7 separate regions of the Homo sapiens genome follow, and all the other regions are linked to region 3. Evidence: promoter capture Hi-C in 16 types of primary human blood cells and fetal thymus (Javierre and others, 2016). All regions are on one chromosome and are shown on one strand. The core of a region is centred on a gene start or on the middle of the fragment in contact, and the rest is flanking DNA. Distances in the headings are between cores, read along the strand shown. Region 1 overlaps HAX1 (HCLS1 associated protein X-1). Region 2 holds the start of SNORA58B (small nucleolar RNA, H/ACA box 58B). Region 3 holds the start of ILF2 (interleukin enhancer binding factor 2). Region 4 overlaps LTAP1 (lipid transport auxiliary protein 1). Region 5 has its middle 3.9 kb from the start of AQP10. Region 6 overlaps UBAP2L (ubiquitin associated protein 2 like). Region 7 overlaps ATP8B2 (ATPase phospholipid transporting 8B2).

Evidence for each region. The method cuts DNA at HindIII sites, captures the fragments that hold promoters and counts their contacts. A CHiCAGO score of 5 or more calls a contact.
Region 1: a fragment that was not itself captured here is called in contact with the fragment with the promoter of ILF2 in region 3 in 2 of 17 cell types (monocytes and naive B cells); the score reaches 6.2 in monocytes.
Region 2: a contact is called between a fragment that was not itself captured here and the fragment with the promoter of ILF2 in region 3, in 2 of 17 cell types (total B cells and naive B cells). The highest score is 8.2, in total B cells.
Region 4: a contact is called between a fragment that was not itself captured here and the fragment with the promoter of ILF2 in region 3, in 1 of 17 cell types (naive B cells). The highest score is 5.4, in naive B cells.
Region 5: a fragment that was not itself captured here is called in contact with the fragment with the promoter of ILF2 in region 3 in 1 of 17 cell types (total B cells); the score reaches 6.0 in total B cells.
Region 6: a contact is called between a fragment that was not itself captured here and the fragment with the promoter of ILF2 in region 3, in 2 of 17 cell types (total B cells and activated CD4 T cells). The highest score is 6.4, in total B cells.
Region 7: a fragment that was not itself captured here is called in contact with the fragment with the promoter of ILF2 in region 3 in 2 of 17 cell types (total B cells and naive B cells); the score reaches 7.3 in total B cells.

Annotation. Positions count from the first base shown.
Region 1 is chr1:154,274,405-154,278,360 of GRCh38, forward strand. It overlaps HAX1 (HCLS1 associated protein X-1), which reads left to right. Exons shown (of 7, transcript NM_006118.4): 4 at 546-597; 5 at 750-856; 6 at 989-1,079; 7 at 1,212-1,471. The coding sequence ends at 1,297. Among named protein-coding and RNA genes, the nearest start is that of HAX1, 3.8 kb to the left of the region's middle. The HindIII fragment of the contact is 2,442 bases long and covers 1,361-3,802 here.
Region 2 is chr1:154,257,786-154,261,608 of GRCh38, forward strand. UBAP2L (ubiquitin associated protein 2 like) reads left to right here. Exons shown (of 27, transcript NM_014847.4): 21 at 1,192-1,245; 22 at 2,163-2,244; 23 at 3,107-3,324; 24 at 3,807-3,823. SNORA58B (small nucleolar RNA, H/ACA box 58B) reads left to right here and starts at 1,942; the gene lies at 1,942-2,077. The HindIII fragment of the contact is 872 bases long and covers 991-1,862 here.
Region 3 is chr1:153,669,697-153,673,472 of GRCh38, forward strand. It overlaps ILF2 (interleukin enhancer binding factor 2), which reads right to left and starts at 1,297. Exons shown (of 14, transcript NM_004515.4): 1 at 1,222-1,297; 2 at 475-534; 3 at 140-182. The coding sequence starts at 1,226. TRX-CAT1-1 (tRNA-iMet (anticodon CAT) 1-1) reads left to right here and starts at 1,554; the gene lies at 1,554-1,625. RefSeq lists a silencer at 1,317-1,696 and enhancers at 1,737-1,876, 2,427-2,506, 2,517-2,566. The HindIII fragment of the contact is 12,664 bases long and covers 1-3,776 here.
Region 4 is chr1:154,205,157-154,209,125 of GRCh38, forward strand. It overlaps LTAP1 (lipid transport auxiliary protein 1), which reads right to left. Exons shown (of 7, transcript NM_001098616.3): 7 at 1,564-2,492. The coding sequence ends at 2,297. CFAP141 (cilia and flagella associated protein 141) reads right to left here and starts at 1,177. Exons shown (of 4, transcript NM_001010979.3): 1 at 1,119-1,177; 2 at 442-482. The coding sequence starts at 1,151. The HindIII fragment of the contact is 1,373 bases long and covers 2,017-3,389 here.
Region 5 is chr1:154,315,058-154,319,252 of GRCh38, forward strand. No RefSeq gene overlaps it. Among named protein-coding and RNA genes, the nearest start is that of AQP10, 3.9 kb to the right of the region's middle. The HindIII fragment of the contact is 2,713 bases long and covers 81-2,793 here.
Region 6 is chr1:154,239,624-154,243,651 of GRCh38, forward strand. It overlaps UBAP2L (ubiquitin associated protein 2 like), which reads left to right. Exons shown (of 27, transcript NM_014847.4): 9 at 1,890-1,942; 10 at 3,594-3,679. Among named protein-coding and RNA genes, the nearest start is that of SNORA58B, 18 kb to the right of the region's middle. The HindIII fragment of the contact is 2,081 bases long and covers 505-2,585 here.
Region 7 is chr1:154,336,106-154,340,059 of GRCh38, forward strand. It overlaps ATP8B2 (ATPase phospholipid transporting 8B2), which reads left to right. Exons shown (of 28, transcript NM_001370597.1): 12 at 1,243-1,439. It also overlaps the pseudogene RNU7-57P. Among named protein-coding and RNA genes, the nearest start is that of ATP8B2, 13 kb to the left of the region's middle. The HindIII fragment of the contact is 731 bases long and covers 1,125-1,855 here.

The DNA of each region.
Region 1 (3,956 bases), core at 1,332-3,831, 610 kb after region 3:
CCCAGCTAATTTTTGTGTTTTTAGTAGAGATGGCGTTTCACCGTGTTGGCCAGGCTGCTTTTGAGCTCCTGACCTCAGGTGATCCACCCACCTCGGCCTCCCAAAGTGCTGGAATTACAAGTGTGAGCCATCATGCCTGGCCAAAGATTGCAATTCTTGTTTGAATCTGATAGCCTTGGGTTGGAATCCTAAGCCCTCCATTTAGTGTTTTCTGTTTTCTATATTAAGCTTGTGGGATTTTCTTTGGGGGGAGATGGGTGTTCTGTTTCTTTTAAAAAACAAAAACAAAAAAACACCACTGGTCTAGATAATTCTTGGATAAGGCAGGATTGTGCACAGAGGATAGGAATATATCAGTTCAGGAAGTCTTTCTGGTAGAAGGATACATAAAACAGCCAGGAAGGAGTGTGTAAATAAGGCTATTCTGAATGGAATTATCTCTTCTGTGGAAGGGGGTTTTGGAGCTCGGGAGTAGTTTGAGGTCTATGACCTTTCAAATTTCAGATTGGAAGGAGTCTTTTCACTTACTATGGTTTCTTCTGCAGTTTGATGATGTATGGCCTATGGACCCCCATCCTAGAACCAGAGAGGACAATGGTAAGTCTGGAGGAAGGGGAAGTTTACCAGCCTTTTGTTATTCTTCTGAAGTTCTGTGTGTTCTCCCTCCCTGAAGTTTCTTCCTGTACACTTGTCTCCTTTTTTCCTTTGGACTCTTTCTCTCCTGCTTCTTCATCTCTCTGCTCTTCCAGATCTTGATTCCCAGGTTTCCCAGGAGGGTCTTGGCCCGGTTCTACAGCCCCAGCCCAAATCCTATTTCAAGAGCATCTCTGTGACCAAGATCACTAAACCAGATGGGGTGAGTTGAAAGAAAGAGGTAAAGGAAAGTATGGCCAGGGAACGAATGCCCTGAAACAGGGATCTGTGTAAAGAAACTGCTGAGCATAACCTTTAGTAACATTCGGAATATGGTGGGGACTTCTCTTTGTAGATAGTGGAGGAGCGCCGGACTGTGGTGGACAGTGAGGGCCGGACAGAGACTACAGTAACCCGACACGAAGCAGATAGCAGTCCTAGGGGTGGTAAGTTAAAAGACAAAGGGGTTCATCTCAAGATTCCTTGGGGAAGGGAAATCTTACTCTTCTACCCTTGTCCTTTGCTTCTGCCTAGTCTCTTTCATTTAGCCTATTTACGTGTATGACTTTCTTCCTTAGATCCAGAATCACCAAGACCTCCAGCCCTGGATGATGCCTTTTCCATCCTGGACTTATTCCTGGGACGTTGGTTCCGGTCCCGGTAGCCTTGTTAACCCTCAGAGGCCTTCAAGTCCTTTCCACCTCTCACCCATTGCCCACCATTAATAAGCTTAGCTTCTCTTGCCACCTCAGGGGCTTGGATATGTGGAATAGTGAACTGGGGCCATGTCAGTTTGTCACTCACCCAAACTGACCAATAAAACCTTTATTTATGCTAATTTTTTGTCTTGGTTTTGTCAAGGCTATTTCAGTTTCTAGAACCATCCAACACTTCCGAAATTATCTTGGTCCTCTGCCTTCTCCTTATTCCTTAATTTTTTATTCTGCATCTAAAACCTGATTTCATAAGTAAGGGTCAGGCACAAGTAGAAAATGATTTTTCTTTCTCAAGCAAGAAAAAAAAAAAAAGAGGCCGGGCTCGTTGGCTCATGCCTGTAATCCCAGCACTTTGGGAGGCTGAGACAGGCAGATAACCTGAGGTCAGGAGTTCAAGACCAGCCTGGCCAATGTGGTGAAACTCTGTCTCTACTAAAAATACAAAAATTAGCTGGGCATGGTGGCGGGTGCCTGTAATCCCAGGCTAGGGCAGGAGAATCGCTTGAACCTGGTAGGAGGAGGTTGCAATGAGCCGAGATCACGCCATTGCACTCCAGCGTGGGCGACAAGAGTGAAACTCCATCTCAAAAAAAAAAAAAAAAAAAAAAAAGAAAAGAAAAGAAAAAGAAAAATGATTTTTCTTACTGAGGAGATGACTAGAAATAATTTCAGGAAAATTTCTAGAGAGGGATACATCAGATTCCCAAAAAAAGGGTGTGGGTGTGGAAGTAGGGGTTAACTGCTTCCCTGAGTGTGGGATCACTGACTGGAGAGTTCATGAAGTAACTGGGGAAGCACATGGGTAAATTTCCCTTACTTTACTGGCCTTAAAAAGTTGTTATGTGGCTGGGTGTGGTGGCTCACGCCTGTAATCCCAGCACTTTGGGAGGCCGAGGCAGATGGATCACATGAAGTCAGGAGTTCGAGATTAGCCTGACCAATACGGTGAAACCCTGTCTCTACTAAAAATACAAAAATTAGCCAGATGTGGTGGCACATGTTTGTAATCCCAGCTACTTGGGAGGCTGAGGTAGGAGAATTGCTGGAACTCAGGAGGTGGAGGTTGCAGTGAGCCATGATCATGCCATTGCACTCCAGCTTGAGCAACAAGAACGAAATTCCATCTCAAAAAATTGTTATGTATGTTAGAGAAAATACACCTGGCACAAACGTTACTAGGTCCTTTTTTCTTTTTGAGGCAGGGTCTCATTCTGTCACACAGGCTGGAGTGTAGGGGGCGATGTTGGCCCACTGTAGCCTCGACCTGGGCTCAGTCCTCCCACCTCAGCCTCCTGAGTAGCTGGGACTACAGGCGTACACCACCATGCCTAGCTAATTTTTTTTCTCGTTTTTTTTCCTTTTATTATTATTATTATTTTGTATTTTTTGTAGAGACGGAGTTTTGCCATGTTGCCCAGGCTTCCTTTTCTCATTATAAAAGTTTTTAACCAGGTGTGTTAGACTGTACCTATCATCCTAGCTACTTGGGAGGCTGAGATAGGAGGATTACTTGAGCCCAGGAGGCGGAGGCAACATAGCAAGATCCTATTTCTAAAATATATATATATATATATATATATTTTTTTTTTTTTTTTTTTTTTTGAGATGGACTCTCGCTTTGTCACCCAGGCTGGAGTGCAGTGGCGCAATCTCGGCTCACTGCAACCTCTGCCTCCCGCGTTCAAGTGATTCTCCTGCCTCAGCCTCCCGAGTAGCTGGGACTACAGGCACGTGCTACCACGCCCAGCTAATTTTTGTATTTTTAGTAGAGACAGGGTTTCACCATGTTGGCCAAGCTGGTCTCGATCTCTTGACCTTGTGATCCGCCTGCCTCAGCCTCCCAAAGTGCTGGGATTACAGGCGTAAGCCACCACGCCCCGCAAAATATTTTTTAAAAATTGGCTGAGCAGGCTGGGCATCGTTGCTCACACCTATAATCCCAGCACTTTGGGAGGCTGAGGCGGGTGGATCACTTGAGGTCAGGAGTTCAAGCAGGCTGGGCACTGTGGTTCACACTTGTAATCCCAACACTTTGGGAGGCCAAGGTGGGCAGATCACTTGACGTCAGGAGTTCGAGACCAGCCTGGCCAACATGGTGAAACCCCAACTCTACTAAAAATACAAAAATCAGCTGGGTGTGGTAGTGCACACTTGTAATCCCAGCTACTTAGGAGGCTGAGGCGGGAGGATCATTTGAACCCAGGGGGTGGAAGTTGCAGTGAGCTGAGATTGTGCTGCTGCACTCCAGCCTGGTTGACAGAGCGAGACTCCATCTCAAAAAACATAAATAAATAAATTAGCTGAGCATGGTGGCCCACATCTGTAGTCTCAGCTATTCAGGAGGCTAAAACAGGAGGATCCCTGGAGGCTGGAGTTCGAGGCTGCGGTGATCTATGATCACACCACTGCATTCCAGCCTGGGCGACAGAGTGAGACCCAATCACAACAACAAAAGCTTTTAGTACTGTGGTTAAGAGGGGCAAATCTGGGGCCAGTCACAGTGGCTCACACCTGTAATCTCAGCACTTTGGGAAGCTGAGCGGAGAGGATCAATTGAGACCAGCCTGGGCAACATAGGGAAACCCTGTCTCTACAAAAAAATTTAAA
Region 2 (3,823 bases), core at 177-2,676, 590 kb after region 3:
CTATTGTGTATCTGCTTTGGTTTATGGTGCACACATGTATGCATGTGTGTGTGTGCGTACAATGTGTATGTATATGTGTGATGAGAATATCTGCCCTGTTTGAAACACAGCTTCTGGGCCTCAGAAGCCAAAGGCCAGAATGTTCATCTGGAATCCTTTTTGGTTTCTTAGATAATTATGACTATTATTTTATTTTTTGAGGCAGATCTTGCTCTTTTACCCAGGTTGGAGTACAGTGGAACGATCATAGCTAGCTCACTGCAGCCTTGAACTCCTGGGCTCAAGCAATCCTCTCACCTCAGACTCCCCAAGTAGCTAGGACTACAGGTGTGCATCCCCATGCCTGGCTAAGTTTTAAAAATTTTTTTAGAGACAGGGTCTTCCTATGTTGCCTAGGCTGGTCTCAAAATCCCAGGTTCAGACAGTCCTCCTGCCTCAGCCTCTCAAATAACTGGGGTTATATATAGGCCTGAGCCACTACTCCTGGCCCCAAGAATTATTTTCTCTGATTTGATTAAATCCCTAACTCTGAGTGTGTTTGCTGGTCTGGCCTGGTTAGAGGAAAGTTTCCTGACTCAATCTGGGACTTTGAGAATAAGTGGCTGACATTAGTAGCTTTTTGCCCTAGTGTATCTTCTGTGACCTTCAAGTATTTGGTACCTATTAAGATGAAGGATATATGGAAACGTTTTAGAAGATACCTGTTCCTGCCCTCATAGACAAAGTCTAGATAAATTTCATACCGATGACACATCCAAATAACACAGTTACACATTTTTAATTTGTGGTCACTACCTTAAAACCCTGACATTGGAGAAAAGTGAAGTATTCTTTCCAGAGGAGATTATTTTTAAGCCAGATTTTGAAGAGTATAAGAGACAGAGACTTGTAGAATAGAGAGTAAAACTGGTTGTTCGTGTATGTTTTGTGTCTACTCTATTGGTATCAAGAAGCCAGCCTACTAGAATCAGTAGTATTTAGCTCAAGGAAAGCTTCAAGACCTTTCATGAATCATTTAATCTCTGTGTACTTTACTGCTTTTTCCTTAAATAAAATTGAAGGAAATAATCCGTGTCCTGTTCTAACCCAGAATGAGGATGAATGTTCTGTTGAATTAGCTTGTCTCTTGGCTCCTTGTTTTGCTAACATCATGACCAGTTCCTGTTATTGCTATATGTCTGTATCTTTCAGCCACAAGTATATGGTTATGATGACTTGCAGATGCTTCAGACAAGATTTCCATTGGTGAGTATGTGGGATAGAGCTTTGGAAAAGAAAGTAGTCTTAAAATTAGTGTTGGGAGAATTATCTCCGTCACAGACATAGCTCTTTCCCATCCCAGCCCTCCATACACTCTGATTTAAGGCATATTAGAATATAGGGATTTGGGGGAGGGTTTCCAACAGAAGATAACTTTTTTTTTTGAGACAGAGTCTTTCTCTGTCGCTCAAGCTGGAGTGCAGTGGTGTGATCTTGGCTCATTGCAACCTCCGCCGCCTGGGTTAAAGCAATTGTCTGCCTCAGCCTTCCGAGTAGCTGGGATTAAAGGTGCCCACCACCACCCCCAGCTAATTTTTTTTGTATTTTTAGTAGAGGCGGGGTTTCACCATCTTGGCCAAGCTGGTCTTGAACTCCTGACCTTATGATCCACCCGCCTCTGCCTCCCTAAGTGCTGAGCTTATAGGCATGAGCCGCCGCACCCAGCCTTTTTTTTTTCTTTTTTTAAATCAGAGTTGTGGCATCTTAGTAAATACATTTTAACCTATTCTATAGCCCAGTAAAGTACTCTGGAGCACTCAGGGTGCTTTCTGTTTGTCCCAGACACTTTAAATTATCGAATGATCTGTTTTCTCAGTAGAATAAGCTTGGTATAAACTGATAGGGATGACACCTAGAGGGTTGAAAATATTGGTCCTCGTGGACTTTGATGTATTCTCAAGTGGGCATACCCGTAGACCTTGTCTGACTGTGCTCATGGCCAGGCAGGGGGGACAGTGTATGCAAGAGTAATGTGGAGTTTGTGCTAACTCTAGCCAGCTTAATTAGTGACTGGATAAATTGCACAACTCTCACATTCTTCTGTTTTTTCCTCCGTGGAAATAGTACTCATGCTGGGGAATGAGTGACATTGAATCTCTGCTCTTTTTTCCCCTCTTTTCTAGGATTACTACAGCATCCCATTTCCCACACCCACTACTCCGCTGACTGGGAGGGATGGTAGCCTGGCCAGCAACCCTTATTCTGGTAGGATTGGGATGGGACTAAATAAATAAAAAGGGAGATAGTGTTGGGATTGATGGCAGACACCTGATTGGTAGCAAGAAGGGATGTGATAAATCAGGATTGGTAGATTCAAAATCCTGCTAAAGTTGGGCATGTCATGGCTTTTCCTATTCATCCCACTTTGTGTTGTCTCCCTGTGATTTCTAGATGATATCTTAGCCAGGCATGGTAGCACACACTTGTAGTCTCAGCTACTTGGGAGGCCAAGGTGGGAGAATTGCTTGAGCCCAGGAGTTCAAGACCAGCCTGGGCAACATAGCAAGACCCCATCTCCAAAAAAAGTGATATCTTGACTTAGTTTCAAGCCATTTGCTAGCTTTTTCCAGGAAATACAGTGGTTGAGGTGGTCTTCTCTGCTCATCTCTGCCCCTTTATGCTACTACTCACAGTGGCAATCTCACTGCCTTGCCACTCCTTCTTTTACCTGACCTATCATTGTCCTCATTGACTTACCGTTTTCCCTGATCCATCGTTGTCCTTCAAGTCCAGCATGGGGTATTCCCCATGGAGGAGAAGAGGGGAGGGAAGAAGAGGGAAGATGAAAGAGAACACAAGTGGGCAGAGAAATTGTGCAGGTGCCTTATTCCAAGAGCCTCCTGCCATAGCATTGCACAGTTATTCAACATTAGTCCTTGACTTGCAGCAACTGTGCTAAGTGTATGCTGAGCAACAATAATTGGAGCCACTAAGAAATGTAATTCAAGGAATTGAACTTTAATAGTCTTTGAACAGGATCTCCTGGAATCATGTGAAATCAGAAGAGGTAATTCTGTATTGGTATTGGGGTGAAAGAGGCAGGTACATTTAGCTTCTCCTGTCACAGGTGACCTCACAAAGTTCGGCCGTGGGGATGCCTCCTCCCCAGCCCCGGCCACAACCTTGGCCCAACCCCAACAGAACCAGACGCAGACTCACCATACCACGCAGCAGACATTCCTGAACCCGGCGCTGCCTCCTGGCTACAGTTACACCAGCCTGCCATACTATACAGGGGTCCCGGGCCTCCCCAGCACCTTCCAGTATGGGCCTGCTGTGTTCCCTGTGAGTACCTGGCTTTGGTCACTCCTTGTGGTGAAGGATCCTAGCCCTGGACACTATCCTAGCTGCTTTTAAGGGTCAATGACTTTAATAATGGATGAGGAGGAACAGTTTCCACCTCTGGCCTGTTTTTGGCCTGATGCAGGGTGGTGGGGGAATGGGGCTGGAATTGGTGGAATTAGGATAGGGATTGCCTAGTCTTAGAATTTGCCAAAGGGAGAATATGATACCATACAGCTTTGCTTCACTCAGATTCATTCATTCCCTGCTGCCATTGTCCCTTTTTCTTCCTCCAAACTACCATTTCTTGACTTCATTAGTAGATTCTAGAACAGTTAGTAAGGAGCTAATTTCACTAAGCAAACTGTAGTCAACTTGCATCAGGATAGGTAGCCATCTGAATGGCCAGTACCTGGAGCAGGACAAGTGGGACAGATGGTATTCTGCTGCCAAGTCACTGCAAATCTGGCCTTTTTGCTCTTTAGGTGGCTCCTACCTCTTC
Region 3 (3,776 bases), core at 47-2,546:
CTCCCAAAGTGCTGAGATTACAGGCGTGAGGCACTGTGTCTGCCCTCTTCAACCACCATCTAACTTCATTAACTGGGAGATACTGGGCTCCATTTCAACAGTGACCAGAAAATGTGTATCATTAACCCAAGGTACTCACCAAATAGAAGTCAAATGGGATATGTGGTACAAAGGGCCTGAACCTAAAACATGAAAAACAGCCAAATTATTCCCTAGGTAGGAATCAAGCGAGATGTAAATAACACGCCAACAATTTTGAAAACATGTCAGTCCTCAGAATGAGTGACAAAGTCTCCGGGGAGGGAAAGAATCATTCTTAGCATAGTGGGGCCAAATTCATTTAACAGGAGTGCAGGAAAAGACCACAGTTGGCTCTCGCAAAACCAAGTGACATTAGTCTACTCTAAAACTCCTATTTAGATGACAAGCAGAAACTAACAACCAAGTGCAGAGATGCTAAAAGCTGGTACTCACCCTCCTCCTGGGCCTCCTCTGGAACCAAAGCGCCCACCACGACCACGGCCTCTGTCACCCCTAGAAATGCAGATTTTATTTTGACCTCATTGAAGGAATACCCACCGGCCATATCATCTTAGGTTGGCTACTTTCATCCCTCGGAACCTCCCAACGGTAGGCAAGAGACCCCACTCACACTTACACTTGTCCCCATTCCAAATGGTGCCCAGTTACACCCCCATAACCTCCTCTAAGTTAATCCAACCCCCATCAAGTAATGATGGGGCTCAGTGAGCCCTACACTTAATAACCCATAATCCTGGGCCACACGAATCCTAATACTTCGGAGGCTAAAGATTGCTCATTTCTTCACTAAGGTACACATTTATCGGGCGTGTCCTAATGTCAAGGCCTTCGCACTGAGGATGAATGCGGCTCGCTCCAGCATTCTCAGCCCGGATGACGGGGGCGGGGGAAAGGTGGGGAGCTCCTCCAGGGGCTTGAGGACACCCCCTCATCGCAACCCTTCAGAGACAAAGGTGTCGAACCCCCCTCCCCACTCCTGGGCCCGAACCCCATCCCGGGCCCAAGTTTCCCCGCCTCTACCGGCCTCCATCTCTCCCACTATCCTAGACCAGGAGTTCTCAGGTTTTTGGCCAGCCCCCGGATACATGGCCCTTTCTGATACTCCGACTTCTTTCGGCCCACGTTCACAAAGTTTTCCGTCGAATACCTGAAACCTTTCGACCGCTTCGACCCACTTACCTCATGGCGCCTTAAAACACGAACAATGGAGGCCGCACCAACCGCCCCTTCCTCTGAGTAGCAGACAACTGAAGAGGCGTCTTGCCGGCGTGTCCCAATAAAACCCGGTGCGATTGGCTCCCGCCTTACCCCATCGCTTATGCCTATTGGCTTACTTTGTCAAACCGGGCTTATGAACCAATAAAAAACGCCTACTGTGTCAGGAACTAGCCAATAAGAACTGGTTCTATAGTAATGACGAATTTTTGATCAGACATTAGGTGGCACTAAAGAAGTCAGGACAACGACTACGTAGTGTTCTATAACAATCATGAGAAATTTTAGTTCTAGATAGCAGAGTGGCGCAGCGGAAGCGTGCTGGGCCCATAACCCAGAGGTCGATGGATCGAAACCATCCTCTGCTATCGGAGTTTTTTCATTGCCCTGTACGGCATACGTAATCTACGTTTCTTTAGTGAAGGAAAATATCTTGCCAATTTTCCTACCTCAAAAATGCAACCAATATCAGCTATTTTTGCCACTAGCAGTTGAAGTTGATGGGGAAAAGGGAGTTTAGGCAACTATGAACACTGCACGTCTACAAACTCGAAGCAGGAGAAACAGGTTTTAGATAGGAGAGGAGTATATTGATTGAATTAGTGTGGAAAACATGGTTTTCCATGTCCATGGAAACAGGTGATCCACCCGCCTCAGCTTCCGAAAGTGCTGGGATTACCGGCGTGAGCCACAGCGCCCAGCTTGGTTACATAAATTCTTTAGTGGTGATTTGTGAGATTTTGGTGCACTCATCACCCGAGCAGTATACACTGAACCCAACTTGTAGACTTTTATCCCTCACCTACCTCCCTTCCATAAGTACTTTTTCGATATTTAATTTACTACAGCAGAACGTAAACATCTTAAGTCTAAACGTATTCTGGCCACGTAACCACCATCCAGATTAAAATAAATATTATTAATTTTTAAAAAACAAGCAAACAAAAAGCGGACCGAGTGCGGTGGCTTGTGGCCACCCAGCACTGTGGGAGGCCGAGACGGGTGGATCACCCGAGGTCAGGAGTTCGAGATCAGCCTGGCCAACATGGTGAAACTCCGTCTCTACTAAAAATACAAAAATTAGCCGGCGTGCTGGCGGGCGCCTGTAATTCCAGTTACTCAGGAGGCTGAGGCAGGAGAATCTCTTGAATCCGGGAGGCGGAGGTTGCAGTGAGCTGAGATGGCGCCACTGCACCCCAGCCTGGGCGATAGAGGGAGACTCCGTTTAAAAAAAAAAAAATCTTACTTGAGGTTTGTTGAGCTTCTTGAATCAATGGCTTCAGGTTTGTCGTCCATTTATTAAATTTATCAGCTATTATCTCTTCAAGTATTAGTTTTACCTATTATTTCCCTCGTTCCTGAACTCCAAATAAAGACGGGTTAGACTTTTCCCCCAGTAATCTCTTTGTCTCTTACCCTCTCTTCTATTATTTCATTTTATTTAGACACAGGGTCTCACTCTGTTGCCCAGGCTGGAGTGCAGTGGTGCACCATCATAGCTCACTGCAGCCTCAACCTCCTGGCCTCAAGAGACTCTCCCATTTCGGCCTCCCTAGTAGTTGGGACTACTCAAAGGCACAGGCCACACCACTCCGAGCTAATTTTATTTTTTTTTTTGAGATGGAGTCTCCCAGGCTGCAGTGCAGTGGCGCTATTTCAGCTCACTGCAACCTCCGCCTCCCCGGTTCAAGCGATTCTCCTGCCTCAGCCTCCCGAGTAGCTGGGACTACAGGCGCCCGCCACCACGCCCAGCTAATTTTTTTTTTTTTGTATTTTTAGTAGAGACGGGGTTTCGCGGTGTTAGCGAGGATGGTCACCATCTCTTGATCTAGTGATCTGCCCGCCTCGGCCTCCCAAAGTGCTGGGATTACAGACGTGAGCCACCATGCCCGGCCCTGCCCAGCTAATTTTTGTATTTTTAGTAGACATGGGGTTTCACCATGTTGGCCAGACTGGTCTCAAACTCCTGACCTCAGGTGATCCTCCTGCCTCTGTCTCCTAAAGTGCTGGGATTACAGGTGTGAGCCACCTCCTTTGGCCCCGGGCTTACTTATTTATTTATTTTTGTAGAGATGGGGTACTTTATATGTTGTCAAGGCTAGTCTTTGTTTTGTTTTTGTTTTTGTTTTTGTTTTTGTTTTTGTTTTTGTTTTTTTTGAGACAGAGTTTCGCTCTTGTTGCCCAGGCTGGAGTGCAATGCGTGATCTTGGCTCACAAACTCTGCCTCCCAGGTCCAAGTGATTCTCCTGCCTCAGCCTCCCGAGTAGCTGGGATTACAGGCATGCACCACCATGCCTGGATAATTTTGTATTTTTAGTAGAGACAGGGTTTCTCCATGTTGCTCAAGCTAGTTTCGAACTCCCAACCTCAGGTGATCCACCCACCTCGGCCTCCCAAAGTGCTGGGATTACAGGCATGAGCCACTGCAAAGGCCTTTTACCCTCTCTTTTTATGCTTTTCATTCCTTTTTATCCATTCTTCATTTTAGGTAGTTTCTGCTGTCCTTTCTTCCAATTTAT
Region 4 (3,969 bases), core at 1,453-3,952, 540 kb after region 3:
TACAGGCGTGAGCCACCGCGCCCGGCTGCATCAGTTTTTTCAAAAGTTCATCAGGGTGAAAAGGATACGTAGCCCAGTCTTGTGAATCTTCTCATTCACTGGTTCAACAAATACTGCACTACCAACCACATAATTAGTACAAAGCCAGGCAACAAATACTTGAATTCTTGATAAAAAAAGAAAATAAAAACATGCTTCAATTTTTCTCCAGAGAATGAGGCAGGGGACAATAAAAACCAATCTATATCACCTAACCTAGTAGGCACTAAGAGGCTGATCTCATTTGCTTTGAGGACAAGGCTGCTTCTCACCCCTTCCGCATCTGTTTTCCTCTTGATGAGCCCCTAAAGAGATGCAGCAGAGTTGGGAGGTGGCTCAGGGAAGACAGCAGAGTGGAAAGGTCAAGCTCAAAGGTAAAGGGAGGGGATAGAAGCAGATTACCTGTCGACCGTCTTCTTAAGTCCCATGGCCTTTTGAAAACTCTGCAAGAAAAGGTAGTTCTGTTGATCTGCCTCAGTCTCCAGAACCTCTATTCTAATGAGAGACATAGACCTTTTTTTTTTTTGAGACAGAGTTTTGCTCTTGTTGCCCAGGCCAGAGTGCAGTGGCGTGATCTCGGCTCACCGCAATCTCCGCCTCCCGGGTTCAAGCGATTCTCCTGCCTCAGCCTCCGAGTAGCTGAGATTATAGGAATGCACCACCATGCCGGGCTAATTTTGTATTTTTAGTAGAGATGGGGTTTCTCCATGTTGGTCAGGCTAGTCTCGAACTCCTGACCTCAGGTGATCCGCCCACCTCAGCCTCCCAAAGTGATAGGATTACAGGCGTGAGTCACCGCACCCAGCCACATAGACCTTTTTGAGAAAGCAATTTCCTGGGGGGAAATAGGGAGAGGAAAGCTCTACTTTCAGAATGGATCAAAGAAAACACGCAGGGGTTGGATAGAACACATATTTGAATACCTACTGTGTACTAGACACAGCCTCCCACTCCTGTTACTAACTACATTATACCCTTGTTACATCAAAAGCCTTTCCCAGTAAAAGATGCACTTATAGTAAATTGATCTGGAAACTTCATCAAACTTCAACCCAGCCCCTCCTTCCAACTCTGCATACCTCTTCTACTTTTGTCATCTTTTCCACAGACATGTCTATAGATTTGCTTGATACAGTCTGAGGAGACTGACAGGCTCCTCTGTTTAGTTCAGTAACCAAGGTTTCAGTAGTCATAGTAACATTTACACCTCCAACAATAACCCTGGGCCTAGGAGTTGATTGGCCACCTGGCCTGTTGCCCCAGAAACCTTGAGAGAATCCTTGTTCTGCAGCCTTCTGTTGGTGACACAGGCATCTATGAGCAAGGGCCACAGTCCTGATTTTAGGATTTCTTGTGCTAGGGTCCCAAGGAGTATGTGTATGGTCGTAGGTCCAGGGTATGCACACAGTCCCACCAATTCTCTGGAGGCAAATCCTCATGCCCTATACCCTGTTAGAAATGTGCAGATAACATTATCAAATGCCTGTTTTATTAAAAGACAACTATAAAGGACTGATTCATACGTTTTATTTGATAATAGTTCATTTTATTAAATAATTTATAAAGTCAGACCAGTGCATTGGGCTTGTTAGGGGAAACCATTCCTTCCTACTGTCACATAGCCTGGCAGATTATATCAGGTGCCAAAACATTCCCTTTTATTCAATTTATTAATGAGAGTGTGGAATTAAAGTAGATCCTTGCATGTCAGGAAAGCTGCAACACATCTGGTTTAAGTGGAGCACAAAGGTAAGTTATTCCACATTCACCAACTTCCCCACTTGACCTCCCACCAGTTCCTGTCTGCTTTTTCCATCAATCAACTCTAAGATGCCCTAAACCCAAACAGTTCCCATTCAACTGTGCACAAAGGTATAGATATGGAAGACATCTCACTCCAACTCTCACCTTTGGAATTAAATAAACCTGGAACAGGGAAGGTGAACTATGGCTGAAACCAAGTGAAGATTTTTAAGAAGCTTTGACAGAAACATTAAGAATAACACCTGAATGCAAATCCAGAAAAAAGCGCTACTGGGGGAAAATAGTCTTAGCCAATGTTCTAAAAATGCTCATAAGGAAGGGTTGGGGAATTACCCTTTAGACACAAGCTCTAAGAACTCTGGATACAACGGGAACTTGGATGGATACAGTCTGGGCCTGCTGGGCCAGATGTTCCGAGGGCGGCCCGGCAAGCAGCCTGTCTTGCACATTGCAACTGACTGGCTTAATCTACGGCAAGAGTCCTTCAGCTCCGTCACAGAGTACTCTCCAATGTGTTATAGTTATCCTTAAAGCTCTTCAATTCAAGGAAGTGCTTGGCACGTTTACTCTTCTGACTGGAGGGGAGGTATGTCACCTGGATGGTTGTTGGGGAGACCTCAGGGGACTGAGTTAGGTCTTTGGCTGCTGACTGGTGATGTCGCTGAGAGCTCCCAATTCGTGCTTTAACCCTGAAGAACAGAGAGGGGAGGTCATTGACAGAATGAGGACTAATCAAAGAAATCAGGGCTTATCCCAGGCCATAAATGCAGCAATAGTCACAAATAGTTATTTGTGTCCTATCTGTCCTATTTTGTAAACTAGTTACTAAAACCCCATCTAGTAGCTTAGAAATACAAGAGGCTGAGCGCGGTGGCTCACGCCTGTAATCCCAGCACTTTGGGAGGCCCAGGCAGGTGGATTGTTTGAGGTCAGGAGTTCGAGACCAGCCTGGCCAACATGGTGAAACCCTGTCTCTACTAAAAATACAAAAATTAGCTGGGAGTGGTGGCGGGTGCCTGTAATCCCAGCTACTCGGGAGGCTGAGGCAAGAGAATCACTTGAACCCAGGAGGCAGAGGTTGCAAGCCAAGATTGCGCCACTGCACTTCAGCCTGGGTGACAGAGCAAGACTCCATCTCAAAAAAAAAAAAAGTAGCAGAGAGGCTGGGCATGGTCACTTATACCTGTAATCCCAGCACTTCAGGAGGCAGAGGCCAGAGATCGCTTGAGCCCAGGGGAGTTTGAGACCAGTCTGGGAAACAAAGTGAGACCCTATCTCTGCAAAAAATTAGCCAGGTATGGTGGCAAGCACCTGTAGTCCTGGTTCCTCAGGAGGCTGAGGCAGGAGGATCGCTTGAACCCAGAATTCGAGGCTGCAGTGAGCCATGAATGTGCCACTGCACTCCAGTCTGGGCGACAGACTGAGACCCTGTCTCTCTCTCTCACACACACCCTAAAAAAGTAGCAGCACTCCAGCCTGGGTGACAGAATAAAGGCCCTGTTTGGGTACCCTGACACACACCTACTCATACCAAAAACAACTAGCAGCAGAGAAACCAATTTCCCAGAGTTCTTGCCTCTGGCTCAAGCTTTTTTTTCAGAGACAGGTATCCCCAATATAGGTATCACCTTGTTTTGCAGATTAGGAAACTAAGGGTCCAATAATTAGCTTGTATGAGGTCACAAAACTAGTTAAGTGACAGACCTGGGATTCAAACCTAAGTTTGTCAGATTTCAAAGCCTATACTCTTCACTAAACCCAATGAACATTCCTAGAAACTACAAATCAAACATAATTTTTTGTTTTTGAGATGGAGTCTTTTTCTCTGTTGCTCAGGCTGGAGTGCAGTGGCACAATCTTGGCTCACTGCAACCTCTGCCTCCTAGGTTGAAGCGACCTGTCTCGGCCTCCCGAGTAGCTGGGGATTGCAGGTGCATACCACAATGCCCAGCCAATTTTTCTATTTTTAGTAGAGACAGGGTTTCACCATGTTGGCCAGGCTGGTCTTGAACTCCTGACCTCAGGTGATCCACCCGCCTCAGCCTCCCAAAGTGCTGGGATTACAGCCGTGAGCCACCATGCCTGGCCTTCAGAAATAATTTTTAAAAAGATTGTGGTAAAATACATGTAACATAAAATTTACCATCTTAAGAATTTTTAAATGTA
Region 5 (4,195 bases), core at 187-2,686, 650 kb after region 3:
CCCAGTTTAGGGGATGATCCTTATCTTCTGTCTGTCTGTGTATTTATATGTATTATGTGTGTAATGTTTATATATGGAAAAGCTTTAATTAATTGGTTTAACAATAAGAATTGCTTAAATCAAACATTTTATCAGAAAAGTAAAAAGTGGAATACCCTTTATTTAGTTCATGTGACTTAAGTAATCTTTGGGAAATAAATACAGTTTTAAAGATTATTGGTAAAATAAAAAATCTTCAAAAATGTAAACATTTTGTCCGGGTGCGGTGGCTCATGCTTGTAATCTCAGCACTTTGGGAGGCCAAGGCGGGCAGATCATTTGAGCTCAGGATTTCGAGACCAGCCTGGCCAACATGGTGAAACCCCATCTCTACTAAAAATACAAAAATTAGGTGTAGTGGTGCAAGCCTGTAGTCCCAGCTACTTGGGAGGCTGAGGGAGGAGAATTGCTTGAACCCGGGAGGCAGAGGCTGCAGTGAGCCGAGATTGAGCGACTGCACTCCAGCCTGGGTGATGGAGCGAGACTCTGACTAAAAAGAAACAAACAAACAAACAAAAAAAAATGTAAACATTTGGTCTAAATTATACAGGTCAGATATTAAGTTTGCTAAATTCTTTAAGGTCATAAGCTGCTTCTTTGACTATTAAAAATTGTTCAATTTTAGGCTGGGTGCAGTAGCTCACGCCTGTAATTCCAGCACTTTGGGAGGCTGAGGCAGGCAGATCACAAGGTCAGGAGTTCAAGACTAACCTGGCCAACATGGTGAAACCCCATCTCTACTAAAAATACCAAAAAATTAGCCAGGCATGGTGGTGCGCACCTGTAATTCCAGCTACTCAGGAGGCTGAGGCAGTAGAATCACTTGAACCCAGGAGGCAGAGGTTGCAGTGAGCCGAGATCATGCCATTGCACTCCAGCCTGGGCAACAGAGGGAGACTCTGTCTTAAAAAAACAAAAAAACCCAAAAAACAAAAAACAACAACAACAAAAAAAATTGTTCAGTTTATCTACTTTGGAGCATTAGATTAAATGTGTTATTGGTACATGTTCCAAAATTATGAGAAATTCCTATAATTCTAATATGACTTAGCGTATGTTATTAATAATTGTTACATAAAATTTTGTATGCAACAGAAGTAACCAAAATTTCCTAGTTAATTGTGGCTTTACTAGTGGCTGTCCTAAGACTTTTTTTTTTTTTTTTTTGAGACAGATTCTTGCTCTGTCACCCAGGCTGGAGTGCAGTGGCACGATCTCAGCTCACTGCAACCTCTGCCTCCTGGGTTCAAGCACTTCCTCTGCTTCAGCCTCCTGAGTAGCTGGGATTATGGGCACCTGCCCTATGCGGCTAATTTTTGGATTTTTGGTGGTGACGGGGTTTCACCATGTTGGCCAGGCTGGTCTCAAACTCCTGACCTCAAATGTTCCACCTGCCTCCGCCTCCCAAAGTGCTGGGATTACAGATGTGAACCACTGCACCTGGCCCTAAGACTTTTTATCATCCACAGACAATTGTTGTCTTGTTTTGATCTTCTTTAGAAGGTAGTTTATAATCAGCCATAGGACTTTAACAGGTGCACTTAAATGCAGGTTTCTGATAACTTTGGAGATTGTGACATTAGAATAGAGGAAACAACTTTCAGAACTCTCATGGGGAGCTGAAATGTTCATAGATATCAAACAAAAGTTAACTGCATAAACTAAAGAAGACTAAAGCAATCTTTTTGCCTTTGCTTAAAACATTGCTGATCCTTTGTTTTATTTTTTAGAGTCAAGGCAACTTTTCTTTTCAGATATTTACAGCTTTTAATAATCGAGTAAAGTATACTCCTGTGAACAAAATTTGGAGTATATGCATCTCTCTACTTGATTTCTCCAGAATTTGGAAATTATTTGTGTGTATTCTTAATTTATGGCAATGCAGTTATTTGCATAAGGGTAATAAGAATCTGTTTTCTTTTGCAACAGGACACAATTGGAGAAATTGTTTATTTTATGAAGGGTTTGACTGGAATGGTGTGCTTTCCATTAAGGAATCAAACTTGACTTGTAAAGCCTATAAAAGCCACTTAGCGACCTGGGCTCATAACCTTGCCTACACAGTCCCTGTACAGGGTTTCTGACCTGTGGTAAGTAAAGAATGTCACCTTCTAAAAGGTCCAGGAGCCCCAAGTTATCTGGGGACCTCAAAAGGAGAGGAAGAATTTACCCAACTCAAAGGTATTTGAGGGCACAAACCCATGGCAGGGCTCAGCTTTAAAAAGTCTTATCCAAGATTCTTTCTATGGAACAGAGTTCCATCAAAGCCAATTTTAAAAGCCTACGTGAAAAATAATTATTCTTGCTGCACTTTATACAATCATCAGGCCAAGTATAATAAAGCACATTGGTCTTACCATAAAAATGGTCTTTCATAAAAATGGGAAACTGGAGAGAGAAAAATTATGTTTCAAGAACTATGATACACTTGTTATTAAATTCCAGTCTCATCAGTTGTCTTTAAGTTTGTTTCTGCAATTTAGGCTAACCCTGCTTAGTCCTGTGAACCAACCAGTGGCCTCTGACTGCTGCTCAGAAGAAACAAGAGGGATGGGTAATGTAAAAATCTGCATCAATATTCTAATTCTGGGCATGTACTGGAATCATCTAGCAACCTCATATCAGCGTGGTTCCAACAGTTCCTCAGTTCATGGAAAGCCTTCTAGTTTAGTTTACTTGGGATAATTTTACTTATTTTGCTTTATGGTTGTGGAATGTATAGCTGTTGTAATCTTTGTATAGGAATGGAGGACAAGCTTACTGAATGTTTCCTTAAACTGAACACTTATGAATCTTCCAGAGTATCACCTTTTGTCAGAACTCATGAGTTATGAATGGCCCTCAAGATACCAATGCTTTTTCTTCCCTTCCCTTCCCTTCCCTTCTTTTCTTTTCTTTCAGATGGAGTTTCATTCTTTCAGGCTGGAGTGCAATGGCACAGTCTTGGCTCACTGCAACCTCCGCCTCCCAGGTTCAAGAGATTCTCCTGCCTCAGCCTCCTGAGTAGCTAGGGTTACAGGCACCCGCCACCACATCTGGCTATTTTTTTTGTATTTTTTAGTAGAGACAGTGTTGCACCATGTTGGCCAGGCTGGTCTGAACTCCTGACCTCAGGTGATCCGCCTGCCTCAGCCTCCCAAAGTGTTGGGATTACAGGCATGAGCCATCCCGCCTGGCCCATACCAACACTTTCCAACTGAGCTCCTCTCTACCACGAATATGAGAGATTCTAAGAGTTAGGCAAAAATATCATCGCCCCTATTCATCCTGAAGAACTTACAGAAGATGGACCTTCGTCCCTCTGCAACCCTTAGGATTAGTGCTTCTCTTATAAAAGGAAGGGGGGAAATGTCAGAGGCACGTGAACCAGAGCAAGTCTATTTTGAACAAGAGCTGAGTAAAATGAGAATGAGACTTACTGGGCTGCATTCCCAGATGGTTAAAGCATTCTAAGTTACAGAATGAGATAGGAGGTTGCCATAAGATACAGGTCATGGCCGGGCATGGTGGCTCATGCCATGACAGTTTATAAATGCCATGACAATGACAGGAAGTTACCCTATATGGTCTAAAAAGGGGAGGCATGAATAATCCACCTCTTGTTTAGCATATCATCAAGAAACAACCATAAACATGGGCAACCAGCAGCCCTCGGGGCTGCTCTGTCTATGGAGTAGCCATTGTTTTATTCCTTTACTTTCCTAATAAACTTGCTTTCACTTTACTCTATGGACTCGCCCTGAATTCTTTTTTTCTTTTTTTTGAGGCGGAGTCTCGTTCTGTCACCCAGGCTGGAGTGCAGTGGTGCGATCTCGGCTCACTGCAACCTCCACCTCCCGGGTTCATGCCATTCTCCTGCCTCAGCCTCCCAAGTAGCTGGGACTACAGGCGCCCACCACCATGCCCGGCTAATTTTTTTGTATTTTTAATGGAGACGGGGTTTCACCATGTTAGCCAGGATGGTCTCAATCTCCTGACTTTGTGATCCCGCCTTGGCCTCCCAAAGTGCTAGGATTACAGGCATGAGCCGCCGCACTCAGCCTGAATTATTTCTAGTGTGAGATCCAAGAACCCTCTCTTGGGATCTGGATTCAGACCCCTTTCCTGTAACAAGATTAGGCACCAGGAGAAACTGACACACATGGATGATATAACA
Region 6 (4,028 bases), core at 295-2,794, 570 kb after region 3:
AATAGGAACATACCAGTTAGGTGTCTACGTTCCTCCTTTCCATCCCAGTTGAAGTCATCAGTGTGCAGAAAAAAATTCTTGCATCAAGAGCCTAGATTAAATAACCTGTTAGATCATGTCTAACTCTAGGATTGTGTATAAGTGCTAATGCAACTTGGATTCCATCGAGCCAGGATAAGATGGATGTCAATGAGAAGAAAGTGTGGTATCAATGAAGGAGAAAAGAATGTGGTTTGTAACTTGTCTGTACTGAGATTGGACTTTGGTTTTGAGAATATTGTCATTATTAAGTGGTTTAGGATTTCCCTGGTGCAATTTTAATATTTTCCTGGGAAAGTCTTTACAATGAATATATTTTCCTCTAAGAAAGAAGATTTTTGCATTATTAAATGTTTAGAAGAATTTTAGATGGGCTTTGTATTAGAATACTTCTAATGTGGTGTTAGAATACTTCTCTTCAGTGGCACAGCATCTGAATGTCAGACTTTTCATTTCATTCTTATAAGCTTTTTTCCAGTAGGAGGGAAGGATTGAAGAGTTATTTAATATATATTATTCTAGCAAGAAAATAAGGGTGCTCTTGTCCCTTCTTCAGACAGGTTCTTGTTTTTACTGTGCCTTTGGCTGAAGGGAAGAATCCTGGTTCTTGTTAGAAATTCTCACCCTTATTTTTTAAGAAAGGACATTTTTTTTTTTCTGAAAATATATGTATACATGAAGCACAAAAAAGGAATGTGGAAGGTGGTTTGATTGCTTTTGGATTTCTCCAGTAGAAACTGTATCCCAGCTTCCGTATTACCAACAAACACAAGGACAGTGTATACTCCCGTTGTCTGTGCCATGACCATAGCAGGTCAGGTTTCAAGTTCTATATGAGTAAGGTTAGGACAGTAACTATCATTCATACCTGATTTTTCAGTCTTGTTCATTGTCTTTTGAAGAGGACAGCTCTATAGGGGCTTTTCTTATACAGTTAAACCAATAAGATCTATAAACTTGACTTCTGCTGAGTATGCATTTTTAATCTAATTCTCATAGCAGATAGTTTTCAATGCCCTCAGTTCGGGTTTCAAACCCACCCTTCTTCACTGCTCTTTCACTAACCATTATGTGGTAACCATTTGTGTTTCTCTATCAGTGCTACTATCCTTCTTCAGACTGCCTACAGTATTTTTTGTCTTATACTAGATAAATAGGTGTAGTTTGCATGTTATGGTTTAAATTGGCTGCTGCCATTTCACTGAATTGACCACTAAATCAACCTGAGGACCTTAAAGATACTGCTTTGAGCATTGGGTGGTTGTCTGTCTGTCCCCCCCCCCACCCCCATTCCTGCTTTGTAACAAAAACTGAAAGTAGCTATGAAATCATAATCTTATTAAAACCCTGGTACTCTGAGATATCCTTTTCTAAAGAGTGTTTCCTTACCTTTGAAGCCCAAGAATTTCTTTTTTTTTGTTTTGTTTTTTGTTTTTGTTTGTTTTGAGACAGTTTCACTCTTGTTGCCCAGGCTGGAGTGCAATGCCGCGATCTCAGCTCACTGCAACCTCCACCTCCCAGGTTCAAGCCATTCTTCTGCCTCAGCCTCCCGCGTAGCTGGGATTACAGGCATGTGCCACCACGCCCAGCTAATTTTGTATTTTTAGTAGAGACAGGGTTTCTCCATGTTGGTCAGGCTGGTCTCGAACTCCCGACCTCAAGTGATCCACCCACCTCGGCCTCTCAAAGTATTAGGATTATAGGTGTGAGCCACCACACCTGGCCTTCTGATTACTAAATTTTAGTCATACTTTTGGCTGCCAAAAAAATTAATACATTGATGTTTTCTATACATGCTTTGTACTGGCATTTAATAGTGAAGTTACTTCACTATTTTTCTTTATTCTCAGGTGCATGGAGGACTGCAACAGAGGAGTGGGGGACTGAAGATTGGAATGAAGATGTAGGTATTCCCAGGTCATTCCTCACTAATGCCTTCTATCCCTAAGTGTTGTTTAGGGATAGAAAATGGGTATGTTTCTACCCCTCAAAATTCACCCTTAAGATTCTGACCCAAAACTTTTACATCCAAAATAGTGTTCTGAGCCAGAACATTTCACATATGTTATATGAAGGAGACTGGGCATGAACAGGACTCTGTGGAACCACACTATGGAAAGGGCAAGTGCACTTGTGTAAGTCCAATATCTGATTGTCGGATTTATCCCAGGAAGAGATTGGTGGTTGGGTAGGGCACCAGAAGTGGAGTTAGGCAGGTAGTGCATTGAGTAACAGCTGCTGGTGGTACATGACTACTTGGTGCATTTAAGTATTTGCTATAAGGTCCTGTAATGGATTGGCAGTGGATCCAAAGCGAGTGTTGTGGTACCAAATCCTCAAACTTGTAATCTGGTTGACTCTGGAACCCTTGTATTTATTTGAAGCCCAACTGTATAATTGTGATTGAGATGAATATCTGTAGAATTGGCTATCTGCCAGCTTGACTTAACTTGGAAACCTCATAGATGGGTGGCACGTAAACAAGCTCTGTGAATTCATTTGAGTACTACCTGAGTAAGAATTTTGCTGATTCCTGGTCACAGTCAAGCTTCTGCTGTGAATTATGGTTTTCAGTGATCATGGATAAACTCTTGTTTTAACATTTTTAATCTATGTACTTTTCTATACTTTCATGTAGTTAGGCAAGACAGCTTTTGTGATAAGAGGAAATGACATGTGAAGACTGTTTTGGTTGCCAATTCTGGGTTTTTTAAATTTCAGAGGCATCAGCATCACAGGGTGATTATTTTCTATTGTATAATCAATGAACTAGACTGCTTTGTGAAAATGGGCAAATTATGTTCCTTTCTGAGATTTGGCTTGTCCGCTTAAGCAACTTTCAGAGAATGATAAATGGTGTTGGGCATTGAGGGGAGAGTGGATTTTCTGTGCTTTAGCGATTTTAATCAAGAAATAAAACTGAAACCCAAATCAACTTTTGAATAGTAGGAAAAGTTAATCCCTGCATTTGCTTACCTAAGTTTGATGCCTTAATAGTGGAAGGACTAGATGTCACAAAGTCAAATATTAAGGCAAAAATAACATCTAGTTAAAACGATCTCCCATAAAAACCTTAATTCAGCAGCACTTGGGCCCTTACTGCTCAAAAGCTAAAAATGAACTTCTTTTATTTATTTCTTCATCTTGGTTATGATCTTTCTTTGGGAGGGGTGGGGCTGTGAAGGGAGTAGTAGAAGACAAATGTGGTTTGGGAAGAGGTGGGAGTTGGGAACTGTAATGGGAAAATATAGAGGGATTTTCTTTCTTTTATTTTTTTTTTTTTATGTCTAGCATGCCTGTAAGTTCAGTATGCATATGATCATGTGACTCCACTATATTTTATTGGGTTCCTTGCTTCTACTCTTTCTTTGGCTAAAACTATTGAGCATATATTGAAGGGCTTGAAAGTCAATCCATTCAGGATTCCTCAGGGTAGATAGTTTTCTCTTTATAGGGCTTTCACTTTTTCTTGATGTTGAATTCCCCTTACCTATGCCAAGTTTCTGACTGTAGCATCCCTGACACCAAGAGTGACTAATCCCTCTGTTTTCCAGCTTTCTGAGACCAAGATCTTCACTGCCTCTAATGTGTCTTCAGTGCCTCTGCCTGCGGAGAATGTGACAATCACTGCTGGTCAGAGGCAAGTGTGCAGTAAAATTTAGTACCATTTCTTAAACACATCTGCTGAGATTACTGTAAAGAGAAGTGGCACTGGCCTTTGTAAACTCCCATGGTGTCAATAATAATAACCAAATTACATTACATCATTACATTCCTCTTAAGTTGATGGAGAGACTTCTTTTTTTTTTTGTTTTTGAGACAGAGTCTCACTGTATCGGCCAGGCTGGAGTGCAGTGGCACGATTTCGGCTCACTGCAACCTCTGCCTCCTGGGCTCAAGCAATTCTCCTGCCTCAGTCTCCCGAGTAGCTGGGATTACAGGCGTGTGCCACCACGCCTGGCTAATTTTTGTATTTTTAGTAGAGACGG
Region 7 (3,954 bases), core at 240-2,739, 670 kb after region 3:
TGGCTTGTACCTAGCCCAGGTGAATAGATTATTTACAGTAAGTTTTCTGGTATGTTAAAAGTAGCTCATCCCCACTCTTACCAACTTTGAGGACTCTGGAAGGTTTCAAGGTGCCAGATTGAGAGCTAATCAACTATTTCAGTTTCTTCATCATATAGATGAAATAATGGTCAGACAGAAGGCCACATGATAATTGGTGACAGACTAGAACCTGTCACCAGTTCTGAGCTTTTTCCACTAGAGCAGTGGTGTCCAATATTTTGGCATCCCTGGGCCACATTGGAAGAAGAATTGTCTTGGGCCACACATAAAATACACTAACATTAACAATAGCTGATAAGCTTAGAAAAAAAAAATTGCAAAAAAAAATCTCATAAATTTTTTTTTTTTTTTTTTGAGACGGAGTCTCACTCTGTCACTAGGCTGGAGTGTAGTGCAATGGCATTATCTCGGCTCACTGCAACCTCTGCCTCTCGGGTTCACGTGATTCTCCTGCCTCAGCCTCCCTAGTAGCTGGGATTACAGGTGCCCGCCACCACACCCGGCTAATTTTTTTGTATTTTTAGTAGAGATGAGAGATGGGGTTTCACCATGTTGGCCAGACTGGTCTCGAACTCCTGACCTCATGATCTGCCCGCCTTGGCCTCCCAAAGTGCTGGGATTATAGGTGTGAGTCACTGCACCTGGCCTTTTTTTTTTTTTTTTTTGAGACAGGTTCTTGCTCTGTTGCCCAGGCTGGGATGCAGTGGCATGATCTTGGCTCACTGCAATGTCTGCCTCCCGGGTTCAAGCAATTCTCATGCCTTGGACTCCTGAGTAGCTGAGACTACAGGCAAGTGCCACCAGGACTGGCTAATTTTTTTAATGTTTTTAGTAGAGACGGGGTTTCACCGTGTTGGCCAGGCTGGTCTCAAACTCCTGACCTCAGGTGATCCATCCGCCTCAACCTCCCAAAATGCTGGGATTACAGGCTTGAGCCACTGCGCCCAGCCCATAATAGTTTTTTTTTTTTTTATAATTATTTTTCATTTAACATTCAGCTGTTACCAAAATCTCATAGTGTTTTAAGAAAGTTTATGAATCTGTGTTGGGCCACATGTGGCCCAGAGACCATGGGTTGGACAAGCTTGCACTAGAGCATCTGAGCTTTTGAGGGCTCAAGGGATGAATACATCACAGATGCACTTGGTTTTGAGGGCTTCCTACATGTCAGCCTCGCCTGTGCTTCTCATTCCTCCCCAGATTTTTGGATTCCTGGTTTGCATGGGGGTGATCCTGGCCATTGGCAATGCCATCTGGGAGCACGAGGTGGGGATGCGTTTCCAGGTCTACCTGCCGTGGGATGAGGCAGTGGACAGTGCCTTCTTCTCTGGCTTCCTCTCCTTCTGGTCCTACATCATCATCCTCAACACCGTTGTGCCCATTTCACTCTATGTCAGGTATGTGCCTTCTCTGACCTGGGGTCTCTCCAGGGAGTCAGGCGGTCCCATAGAACTTTTCTTTTCTATGAAGATGAAGTCCTTGAGAAGTAACGAGAAGTCCTCTTCTTCCTGTACTGTAAACATTTGATGTTATCTGTTTATCTTTGTGGGCAGAGCAAACTTTTTACCACAGTTTCCTGGTACTTGGGACTGTATTAGAGAAAAAAAAATATTGATTTATTCAGCACCTATTTATTACATGCCTACTGTGTACAAAGAAGTGTGCTAGGTGCCATCACAAATAAAAGATGAATTAGGAATGGATCTCCTTCCTTCTAGGAGCTTACGTCTAGTAAAGGAAGGAAAATCTAAACACATTATAAAACAAAATAGGAACCAGTGCTGTAGAATTCGACCTAGAGTCTTCTATGTGAAGCTTGGGGATACAGAGATGTATAAGGTGGCCTCTGCCTTTAGCAGCAGCAGATGGATAGGTCGAGGAGGGGAGATCTGGACAGTGTCAGACTGAGATACCATGTGGGAGGCACAGGGTGCCCGGGGACTGGGAGAGTGTCGCTCCCTAAGCAGGTAGGCAGAGAGGGAGAGATGGCATTTGCTCTGGGCTTTGAGTGGTGACTGGGCTGGATGAAGGTGGAGCCACAATGGAGAGGAGGCTGAGAGGGCTGGAAGCAAAGGTGTGGAGATGGGAGCCTGGGAATGGCCTATGGAAATAGTTGGCCAGGGTCTTGGGCCAAGAGCAAGAGCTGGAAACATAGCTTGCTCCTGATTGTGGAGGCTTTTGAATATTTGCCTGTGGACTTTGTATTTACTAACCATTAAAAGTTATTGAAAAGACTGGGCACGGTGGCTCACACCTGTAATCCCAGCACTTTGGGAAGCCAAGGTGGGCGGATAACGAGGTCAGGAATTCGAGACCAGCCTGGCCAACATGTTGAAACCCCGTCTCTACTAAAAATACAAAAATTAGCCAGGTGTGGTGGTGGTTGCCTGTAATCCCAGCTACTTGGGAGGCTAAGGTAGGAGAATCGCTTGAAACCGGAAGGTGGAGGTAGCAGTGAGCCAAGATCACGCCACTGCACTCTAGCCTGGGCAACGAGCGAAACTGTGTCTCAAAAAACAACGAAACAAACAAACAAACAAAAAAGTTTTTGAAGAAAGTCAAAAGAATGTATTCTGTATTCTAAAAATGCATTCTAAGTGTTACAGCTCTTTTAGAATTTGTCTAGCAGGTTTTCCAGTTTTCACTGGAACCCCTCCCCCACAAAAAGAAAAAAATGCATTCTAAAAAAAAACTAAAGAATGCTTTAGGAAGTATTGACTGGCAGTAGTGTACAGCATGAATAGGATCAAGGCAACATGTAGGATGTTTGAGGTAAAGAGAATGTTAGCAGGGACAGGCCAGTGAGAATGAAGGGGAGGATCGGAGGAAGACGAGGCAGGAGGAATGGCCAGGGGAAAGGAACTTTCTTGCTTAGTGCCTTGCACTTGAGATAAGGGAACCTGTGACATTTTTAAGGAAATGTTTTATGGAGGTGCTGAAAACTTGTCCTGTCTCCCATCTTTTGTTCATACAGATTCCCCAAATAGCCCTCAACTCTCTCCCAGCCCCCAATCTTACTGCTGGTGATAATAAATAGAAGATACAGCATTTCTGTGCTGAGAGAATATAGTTTAGGCTTTTCCAGGGTGTGAAGAGGAGAGTTGGGAGGTTCTGGGTTTAGTCCTGCCTCCTCACTGGCCATGTGACCTCAGGAAAATCCACGGTCACTCAGGGCCTCACTTGATCTTAGTTTTCCCACGTGAAACAGGAACAGGAGTACTTGTCTCACCTTTTAATAGGATGTCTTGATATAAGATATTGGCTTAGAAGATACATTTTAAACTTAAGTGACTGTACAGTTACTGGGTGGTAGCCTGCTCATTGTGACTGTTGCCACTCCCTTCTGCATTACTATTTAAATGCCTTTGTGCTTACAACCTAATTTTGTTTTCCCACCTATGGGCTTTGCTATCTGTGTTTTGTATCTCAGTTCACTTGAAGCCCTTGGGAGCAGCTAAAGCAGTTTTCTTTCTGAGTCTCATCAGGTCACAGTGTGTATGTTTCGGGAGGCTAAGAGGGGGTTGAAGAGCTGTGTGAGGAAAAGGCCCTTTGGAATGTGAAGACATTCCCATTTGCCTGGTAATGGGATCCTGATAGGTGCCTTAGTCAGGTGGGAAGCAGGGCTCTCGATAGGGCCCCATTGCTCGGCTGCACTGGACCTAAACATGGCCCTTTCTGGAAATGCTAACAGTGCATATGATTAGCAAAGAAGAGGATACGAACAGACCTGGAGATGTTAAAGGCACTATAGGGGCCAGGCATGGTGGCTGTCGCCTGTAATCCCAGCACTTTGGGCGGTGGAGGCGGGAGGATCTCTTGAGTTCAGGAATTCAAGACCAGTGTGGGCAACACAGCGAGATCCCATCTCTACAAAAAATGAAAATTAGCCAGGTGTGGTGGTGTGCACCTGTA